Linked DNA regions of Homo sapiens: region 2 is linked to region 1. Evidence: promoter capture Hi-C in human tissues and cell types (Jung and others, 2019). All regions are on one chromosome and are shown on one strand. Each heading gives the region's core, a stretch centred on a gene start or on the middle of the fragment in contact. The rest is flanking DNA. Distances are from core to core; before and after follow the strand shown.

Region 1 (4,097 bases), core at 480-2,979:
ACTCCCGACCTCAGGTGATCCGCCCGCCTCAGCCTCCCAAAGTGCTGGGATTACAGGCGTGAGCCACCGCGCCCAGTCTAATTTTTTTTTAAGAGACGGGGATCTCGCTGTGTTGCCCAGGCTGGTCTTGAACTCCTGGGCTCAAGCGGTTCTTCCGCCTCGACCTTCCAAAGAGTTGGGATTACAGGCATGAGCCACTGCTGGCCTCCTTTTGGATACTACCTCGAGAAGGCGTCCCAGCCCCGACGTAGTAACGCCTTACCCTCGATTTGGAGGCGTTGTTATCCCAGCCTGATGTTTGGGGTCGCGTTCCAGCGGTGATCGCGGGAGTGTTCGCGCCCCGGCCCATAGAGGGCGTGCCAGCCCTGGACCCGCAGGTTTCCCTCCAGTGACCACGACTGGAGGCGCCGTCGGGCCTCAAACAGCAGGGGACATACGAGGCTACGACCTCCAGGGAGCTCTGCCCCACCCCCTCCCTCCGCCCTTGGAGGCACCCGCCGGATCGGACTCACTCGAGCTGGTAGGAGAAGCTGTAGTTGCCCGGGCCCACCCCAGCGCTCGCCGCTTCCTCCCAGAAACACACCAAGTCCTCCAACCGCTCGGTGAAGCACAGAAGCTCTTCGGGCCCCCGGGCCGCCAGCAAGGCCGCTGGGGAGGGGCGACAAAGGAAGGGCATGGGGGTCTGAGCTCTATCCTCGGGAGACAGCCCCCTCCTCTTCCCTCCCGCAGCCTGGGCGGACCCGATAAGAAAAAAGCCCCGCCCTGCCATCTTCCCAAGCGGGTCCCTTGGAGGGGTCCGCAGAGGTGGTGCCCCCCTAATTCCCAGGGGCAAGTTTCTCGCCTTACTGTCCCCCGCCGTCACCACTGGCGCACACCTGCCCACCCAGCGGCCAGCTGAGCTGGGCGCGGCGTTCAAGACCTCGAGCTCGGGACTGCCAGCCCCGCCCCAGCCTAGGACACGCGCGCGGCTGGGGGTGTGTGCGGAGAGGCGGGCCCCCTATCGGCCCCGGCAGGCTCCCCGCCAACCGATAGCGCCAACCGTGCCCCCCGCCTCCCTCCCTCCACCGGGCCGGGCAAGTGATCTGGCGCCCTCACACAAACCGTGTTTACAGTAGCCTGTGGCTTGGCCCCTCTAACTCGGACCCGGGCTTTACCCTCCCTCCCCTAGGGAGGGTCGGCTTGGTCCCCACCCCCCAGGGACCTTAGCACCAAGTCAGCCCCCTTAGGATTTAGCATGTCCCAGACTCCCTGAAAAGGTAAAACGGGAATGTTAAGCCCACTCTAGCTCTTGCCCGGGACGCGATCAGGAGTCTTGGATCCTAACATACCCCACCCCGCCCCCCACCCATCCAGGACCCAGTCTAAGGGTTCAGATGCCAGCTTGGCCCCCAGGACCCGGTCAGGAAGTCCAGAAACAGGCATGGCCCCCAGGACCTAGGCTGGGAGTTCAGGCCCCAGCATGGTCCTGCAGGCTCCAGCGTAGGGGTCCACACGCAGCTCATCCTTACCTTTGCTCTCGAACTTGGGGTCCGGGAGGTTAGGCGGGGGCGCCCAGGCGGCCCCAGCGAGCAGGAGACAAAGGGAGCCGACCTGGGGCCAGAGGGACGCCCCGAGGTGGTCCATGATACAGCCCCCGCCACGGGGAGCCCAGGGCTCCTGCCCCTCCGTCCCCCGCCCCCGGCACAGTCCACAGCTGGGTCAGCAGCTGCCTCCGCCGGACGCAGCTGACCAGGCCCTTCCCGACCAGGCGCCTCTAAGTGGCAGATCCCCGAGGGGGCGGGGCCAGCACTCAGCCTGGGTAGAGATAAGTGCCTGGCGGGAGGAGGCAGGGGCCCTTCCCGAGCCCAGAGGCCGCTTGGGGGCAGGGGAGGGAGTTGGGCCGCAACAGCTCCCGTTCTGGCTTCAGACACACGTTTTTTTTTTCTTTGTGGCCCTGGACAGGTGACTTACCTTACCTGAGCTTCAGACTTCTCATCTGTAAAATCTAGCCTGGCACATAGCGAACATTCCAAAAAATGTACCTACTGATTTTATCGCAGAAATCAGCATCTCTTCCCAGCCTGGAAATAAATAAAAATTATTTTCTCTCTCTCTCTCTCTCTCTCTCTCTCTCTCTCTCCTTTCCTTCCTTCCTTCCTTCCTTCCTTCCTTCCTTCCTTCCTTCCTTCCTTCCCTCCTTCCCTCCTTCCCCCTCTCTCTCTCTGTCTCAGGGTGTTGCTCTGTCACCCAGGCTGGAGTGCAGTGGCACAATCATAGCTCACTGCAGCCTCTGGACTGAAGCAATCTTCCCACTGCACCTGGCTAATTTTTAAAATTCTTTGTAGAGATGGGATCCCACTATGTTGTCCAGGCTGGTCTTGAAATCCCGGACTTAAGCAATCCTCCAGCCTCCATCTCCCAATGTGCTGGGAATACCAGCACGAGCCACTGAAGCCGGCCAATAATAATCCTTGCAACGACCAGCAGTTGAGTGTTTGCACAGTGCTAGGCCATGCTCCTGGGCAGTATGCATAATATGTGAGATTTTCATTTACGAATTTTTGGGAAAAAAATTTTTACCACCCACATTTTTATTCTCTTGGGCTGGGCCCGGTGGCTCACGCCTATAATCCCAGCACTTTGGGAGGCCGACGTGGGCAAATCACTTGAGGTCAGGAGTTTGAGACCAGCCTGGCCAACATGGTGAAATCCCATCTCTACTAAAAATACAAAAATTAGCCAGGTGTGGTGGCGTGTGCCTGTAATCCCAGCTACTCAGGAGGCTGAGGCATGAGAACTGCTTCAGTCTGGGAGATGAAGATTGCAGTGAGCCAAGATCATGCCACTGCAACTCCAGCCTGGGCAACAGAGTGAGACTGCATCTCAAAAAATAATAATAATTGGCTGGGCGCGGTGGCTCATACCTGTAATCCCAACACTTTGGGAGGCCGAGACAGGCGGATCATGAGGTCAGGAGTTCGAGACCAGCCTGGGCAACATGGCGAAACCACGTCTCTACTAAAAATACAAAAATTAGCCAGGCGTAGGCCGGGCGCGGTGGCTCACGCCTGTAATCCCAGCACTTTGGGAGGCCGAGGTGGGCAGATCACGAGGTCAAGAGATCAAGACCATCCTGGCCAACATGGTAAAACCCCATCTCTACCAAAAATACAAAAATTAGATGGGCGTGGTGCTGCATGCCTGTAATCCCAGCTACTTGGGAGGCTGCAGGAGAATCGCTTGAACCCAGGAGCCGGAGGTTTCAGTGAGCCGATATTGTGCCACTGCACTCCAGCCTGGTGACAGAGCGGGACTCCGTCTCAAAAAATATATATATATATTCGAGCGTGGTGGTGGGTGCCTGTAATCCCAGCTACTCAGGAGGCTGAGGCAGGAGAATTGCTTGAAACCAGAAGGCAGAGGTTGCAGTGAGCTGAGATCACACCATTGCACTCCAGGCTGTGCAACAAGATTGAAACTCTGTTTCAAAAAAATAAATAAATAGTCCATGCACAGTGGCTCATGCCTGTAATCCCAGCACTTTGGGAGGCCGAGGTGGGTGGATCACAAGGTCAGGAGATCGAGACCATCCTGGCTAACACAGTGAAACCCTGTCTTTACTAAAAATAGAAAAAATTAGCCGGGCGTGGTGGCGGGTGCCTGTAGTCCCAGCTACTCGGGAGGCTGAGGCAGGAGAATGGTGTGAACCCAGTGGGTGGAGCTTGCAGTGAGCCAAGATTGTGCCACTGCACTCCAGCCTGGGCAACAGAGCGAGACTCCGTCTCAAAAAAATAAATAAATAAAATAAATAAATAAATATAAATAAATATAAATAAAATAAAATGGCAATACTCCTACCCTGTTTCTATTAAGCAGGTGGGTTTTTTGTTTTTGTTTGTAGCCAATGTGCTTATTGTCACCTGACATGTATTTGATGTTTTGTTATTGATTCGCTGCCCTTACTATTCCATGAAAGCAGGTTTTTTTTTTTTTTTTTAGATGGTGTCTTGCTCTGTTGCCCATGTTGGAGTGCAATGGCACAATCTTGGCTCACTGCAGCCTTCGCCTCCTGGATTCAAGCGATTCTCCTTCCTCAGACTCCAGGGTAGTTGGGACTA
Region 2 (4,291 bases), core at 1,205-3,704, 97 kb after region 1:
AAGTCTCCCCCGACTTTTGGTTTCTCTCTCCCTCTTTCTTCCTCTGTTTCCCTCTCTTCTCCACTGTCCTGCCCTCTCTCTGAACCGTTCTGTGTCCCTGGCCTCATCACTCTCTCTTCCTCTTTTCCACCATCGCACATACATCTGACGTATGGGTTTTGCAGTGAACACACCTGAGGCCACTTTTTTCTTAAAACCTCCTGTGTCTGACCCCCACGGCCCCCAGCTGCGGCCCCTGGCCCCAGTCACAGTGACAGATGCCTGGATACCGGCGACAATAGGGCATTGAGTGGCTATGCATGGTGAGGCTGGGCTACCACGTGGTGCTGACTGAGCCTCCTACTTCTGGGCCCTTCTTCAATGCAGGGTCCTCCTGGTCTTAATTTGTCACCTCTCTTCCTCCCAGCCTGTCCCCATGATACATCTCTGCCCCAGGGCTCGCTCACTGGAGAACCTAGGTCCTCAAGGCCCTTGTGTGACCTCTGACCACACCCTCTTTCCCTTTGTGCATTAGTTTCCTTTTTCAAATGAGAGAACCGATCAGAGGACGCTTAGGAGATGCTGGACTGTTGCGGGAGTTCTGAGGTCCTCAGGAGGCCACACTCCAGTTCCCAGACCTGGGTGAACAGCACGAGGCCCAGAGAGGGAAAGGAACGGCCTGAGGTCACACAGCAGGTGAGCCAGGCCTCCGGGACCTCATTTCTCAGAGCCAGGTGGGCGGGTCCCAGGGTCCAGGAGGGGAGAGGCTTAGGCATGGAGGGAGCGCCAATCATGCCCCCACCCCCAGTGCTAGCCACGACTCGAAAAAGGGGCCCGGAAAGAGACACAATGCACAGAGACACACACGCAGAGACGGAGAGATAGGAAGAGTGGAAGAGGGAGGCCCAGGCGCCGGGACCAGACAAAGGACGCGCGGCGGCGCGGGGAGCGGAGTCGCGCGGCAGGGGCGGGGGTGGAGCCGGGGTGGGGCTATAACTGGCCAGCCCCGCCCCCGGGATACGCCCGGGCTGCCGAGTGGGAATCCGAGGGCTCGGGCGAGGCCGGGCCCCCGGGGCCCTGGGGGCGGGGCCTAGATGGGCGTGCCCGGGCGTGGCCAGGCAGGGCGTGGCAGGGCGGGAGGGGCTGCGCGCTCGGGAGCTGACCAGCTCCGTGGCTGCTGAAAGCACCGAGCGCGGGGCTAGCGGTGCGGGCGAGCAGGCGGGCGGGCCGCGCTCAAGGTCACCTCGCGGCCCAGAGCCTTGGCGAGGTGGGGAGCCTGGACCTGGCCTAAGGGGGCTGTCTCGGCCTCCCACCCCATCTCCCGGGGGGCGGAGACCCGGGAGCCCAGAGGTGCCCCCCCAACCCGCGGGCCCTCCTCTCCCCTCCCCCTCCCCGCAGCCCGAGGCGCCCGCGCGAGGCTGCGGCCCGCGAAGAAGCGCCGAGAAACAAAGGGACGCGGCAGCAGCGGCGGCGGGCCCGCGGGGCCTCCGGGCGCGCCCCCTCCTCTCCCCTCCCCGCTTGCCGCAAGGTCGACGGGCTCGAGGACGAGACGCCCGCCTCCCGGGTGCGGCCGAGGCCCGGGGCGCGCGATCCGACGCCACCCGCTTTCCCAGGGCTCTCGGGGACGCTTTGTCGCTTTGGCTTGGCCCAGCACCAGTGATCGGGCCCTGCGTTTGCCTGGGCGGCCTGCGGGGTCTGGGCCTGGATGGAGGAAGCATCCTTAGCCGCCGCGGCCCCTCCCCCATCAGGCCTGCTGGAGAGGGGGCAATCCCGCCTCCAGGGCGGCGTCGGACGCCTCCCGAATCGCAGTCAGTCTCCCTAAGGCCCTCTCAGACCAAGCTCTAAGCGCCCTCAGCACTCTGGGCGCGGCCCTGCCCACTCTCAGGCCCCGAGGCTTGGTCCTACCCCCCCAACCCGGGCCTAGCTAGGCCTGGTCCTACCCCCCCCGCCGCACCCGCCCAATCTCCGCGGAGCCTGGGCCCAACTCCTCCCCGTCCCGATTCCCTTTCGGCGACAGGGGAATACCTACAGTGACCATTCTTGTGTGCCCGGCGGGCGCGGTCCGTGTTGAGGGGGGCTCCGGGGGTGGTGCACTCCTAGGGGGGCGCCCGATGCTCACGCTGGGGTCCCGCCCGGGCGGCCTCTGGTGCGGCCGCTGCAGATGTGGCGATGAAGGCGGCGGCTCCCTCGAGGGCCAGGGACGGGCCCGAACCCGGGGATGCGCGCGCGGATGGCCGGGCCCCGGGGTGGCCTGCGGGCGGCAGGGGATGGAAAGAGGGAGCGGGCGCGGGGTTGAGGACGCCCCCTGCGCGGCCCCGCGGGGCCCGGGGAGGTTGCGCTTCCCGACAGAGATCGCGGCGCTCTGCCTTTCGCCGCCGCCCCTCGGTCGGTCCTGTCCGGTCCCGTGTGTTCAAGTCCTCTCCCCTCGCCCACCCTCCCTCCCTCCCTCCGGCCCGCGCTGCGCGCTCCGCGCTCTGGACCGCGCCGCCGCCGCCCCCAGCCCTTTATAGCAGCAGCTGCCAGCGCCGGCGTCGCTCATTGGCTGCGGCGACCGAGCTCCGCCTCCTCGCGGCTCCCGACGGCGCGGCAGGTGGAAGTGAGCGCGCACTGGTCGGGACTCTGAATCCCCCAAAAGCGCATCCTAGGTGCTCGGGTTGCCAGATTTGGGCCCTCCTTCCCTCGAGGCCCTTGCTTCCTACCCTGGCACCCCTTCTTGGGCTGGCTTTCGGGCCAGGAGACGGGCTCCCCTCCTCCGTCCAGCTCCTAGAGCTGGAGGAGCCAACAGAGCGAGGAGGTATTAGTGGCCTGAATATGCGACCTTCCAGAGGTGTTGTCCACTGAGGGAACTGGACAGGGGATCAGGAACCAATATTTTAGTAGGCAGAGGCCTGGGTCCCCAGATTTGGAGGCACCAGTGTAGACCACCTCAAGACCACGGGGGAGGGTGGCTACTGTGGCCCTAGTCTTCTGCAGAAGGAGACTGGGACGCTGTTGGTTTTGAGTGAGCTGGATCCTTCTAGGGTTCAAAAGGTAAGGACTGGCACTCCCCAGTGCAAGGAAACTCCGCACTGCTCCGAAGGGGGTGAAAAGGTTTGGGGCTCAGTGTTCTGGACAATCATCGCTGGAGCCATGCAGCTCTGGGAAACCACGGATCCTTCTTGGACCCCACAGAACTGGGGTGGGTGGATCTGCCACATAAATGTCCTGGCTTTCTAGGCTCGTGATTGGTCCTCCTGACTGTGGAGTCATGCTCGCTCTCTGCTAGGGGGAACCTGGCCTCTCTCTAAGGCGTTGGGGGTGGCGCAGCCTCCTTTGGTGCGCGGGCGCCGGTGCATGTTTACGTCGGGGCGCGGGAACTAGCACACACTGGGGCGGGGTCGCCAGGGCGTGAGGCTTCAGCACCACAGACAGCAATCCGACAGTCCGGTCGAGGGCGCTGCCGGCGAGGTAGCCCAGACCCCCTAACTGGAGAGCGGCAGTCCCCACCCAATCCTCGTTCCTGCACGCCCTTTAGGCTCCAGACTGTCAGAGAGCGCCACCAGCGAGGAGAGCCTAATTTGCCCAATCAGGGGCGGCCCTTGAGATAACCAGTTACTGGAAGATGCCCTAGAGATCGAGCCAATGGGAGTGCGCGCACCAGGGGATGCTGCCACGCCTGGAAAGGGCAGGCCAATCGCAGTGGCCCGCGCAATAGGGGCGGTGGCGGTGCAGATCCCCGGGTGGCCCCTCTTGGGCTCGCCGGGGCGACCTGGCTGCGGGCGCTAGGGGCCCCAAGCGATGGTCTGTTCCCCACCCCGTGTTCCTCCCGGTTTCCGTCATCGGAAACTGAGCTAGGAGGGGGGCTGCTCCTGGGCGCGCGGACCCCGCTGCGGTTCCCATGGAAACCTGCCGGCTCCGGCAGTGCGGGGAGAGTGGAGGGGACCTGCCTCGCGGGGGGAGGGAGCTCGCGGGGGCGGCCCCAGCGGCCGGACTCGCTCATCCTTGCCGATTCTTCTGTCCCCGGCTGGGGTAGCCCCCCGGTCCGCAGCAGGAACTGAGGCATAGCTGGGGCCCCGCCTCATCCCCCGAACTGGTGAGGAACCGGCGGGGCCAATCTGCGCGTGGCGCCACAGGGCTCCCCCGGGCACGTGCCTGAGCTCGCGGCTGCGGTCCCCAGGGTCACGTGGCTGCGGCCACCAGGGCCTACGCGCCTCGCACGCCACCTAGCGGCCGCGCCTCGCTCCCCGCCCCTCTCTCTAGCGGCCCGCAGGAGGCGGCGGCCTCAGCATCCTCCTCCGGGAAATGGGGCCAGGGCAGCCGCCGCCAACTCCCC

The links. Contacts are between HindIII fragments. The study calls those that stand out against the background at their distance.
Region 2: the fragment with the promoter of ELAVL3 here is called in contact with the fragment with the promoter of EPOR in region 1 in 11 of the 25 tissues and cell types used here (IMR-90 fibroblasts, adrenal gland, aorta and 8 more).

Annotation. Positions count from the first base shown.
Region 1 is chr19:11,382,585-11,386,681 of GRCh38, forward strand. EPOR (erythropoietin receptor) reads right to left here and starts at 1,730. Exons shown (of 8, transcript NM_000121.4): 1 at 1,509-1,730; 2 at 513-648. The coding sequence starts at 1,623. RefSeq lists a silencer at 970-1,029. The HindIII fragment of the contact is 19,405 bases long and covers 1-4,097 here.
Region 2 is chr19:11,478,592-11,482,882 of GRCh38, forward strand. It overlaps ELAVL3 (ELAV like RNA binding protein 3), which reads right to left and starts at 2,455. Exons shown (of 7, transcript NM_001420.4): 1 at 2,009-2,455. The coding sequence starts at 2,017. RefSeq lists silencers at 973-1,167, 3,542-3,791, 3,822-4,261. The HindIII fragment of the contact is 31,814 bases long and covers 1-4,291 here.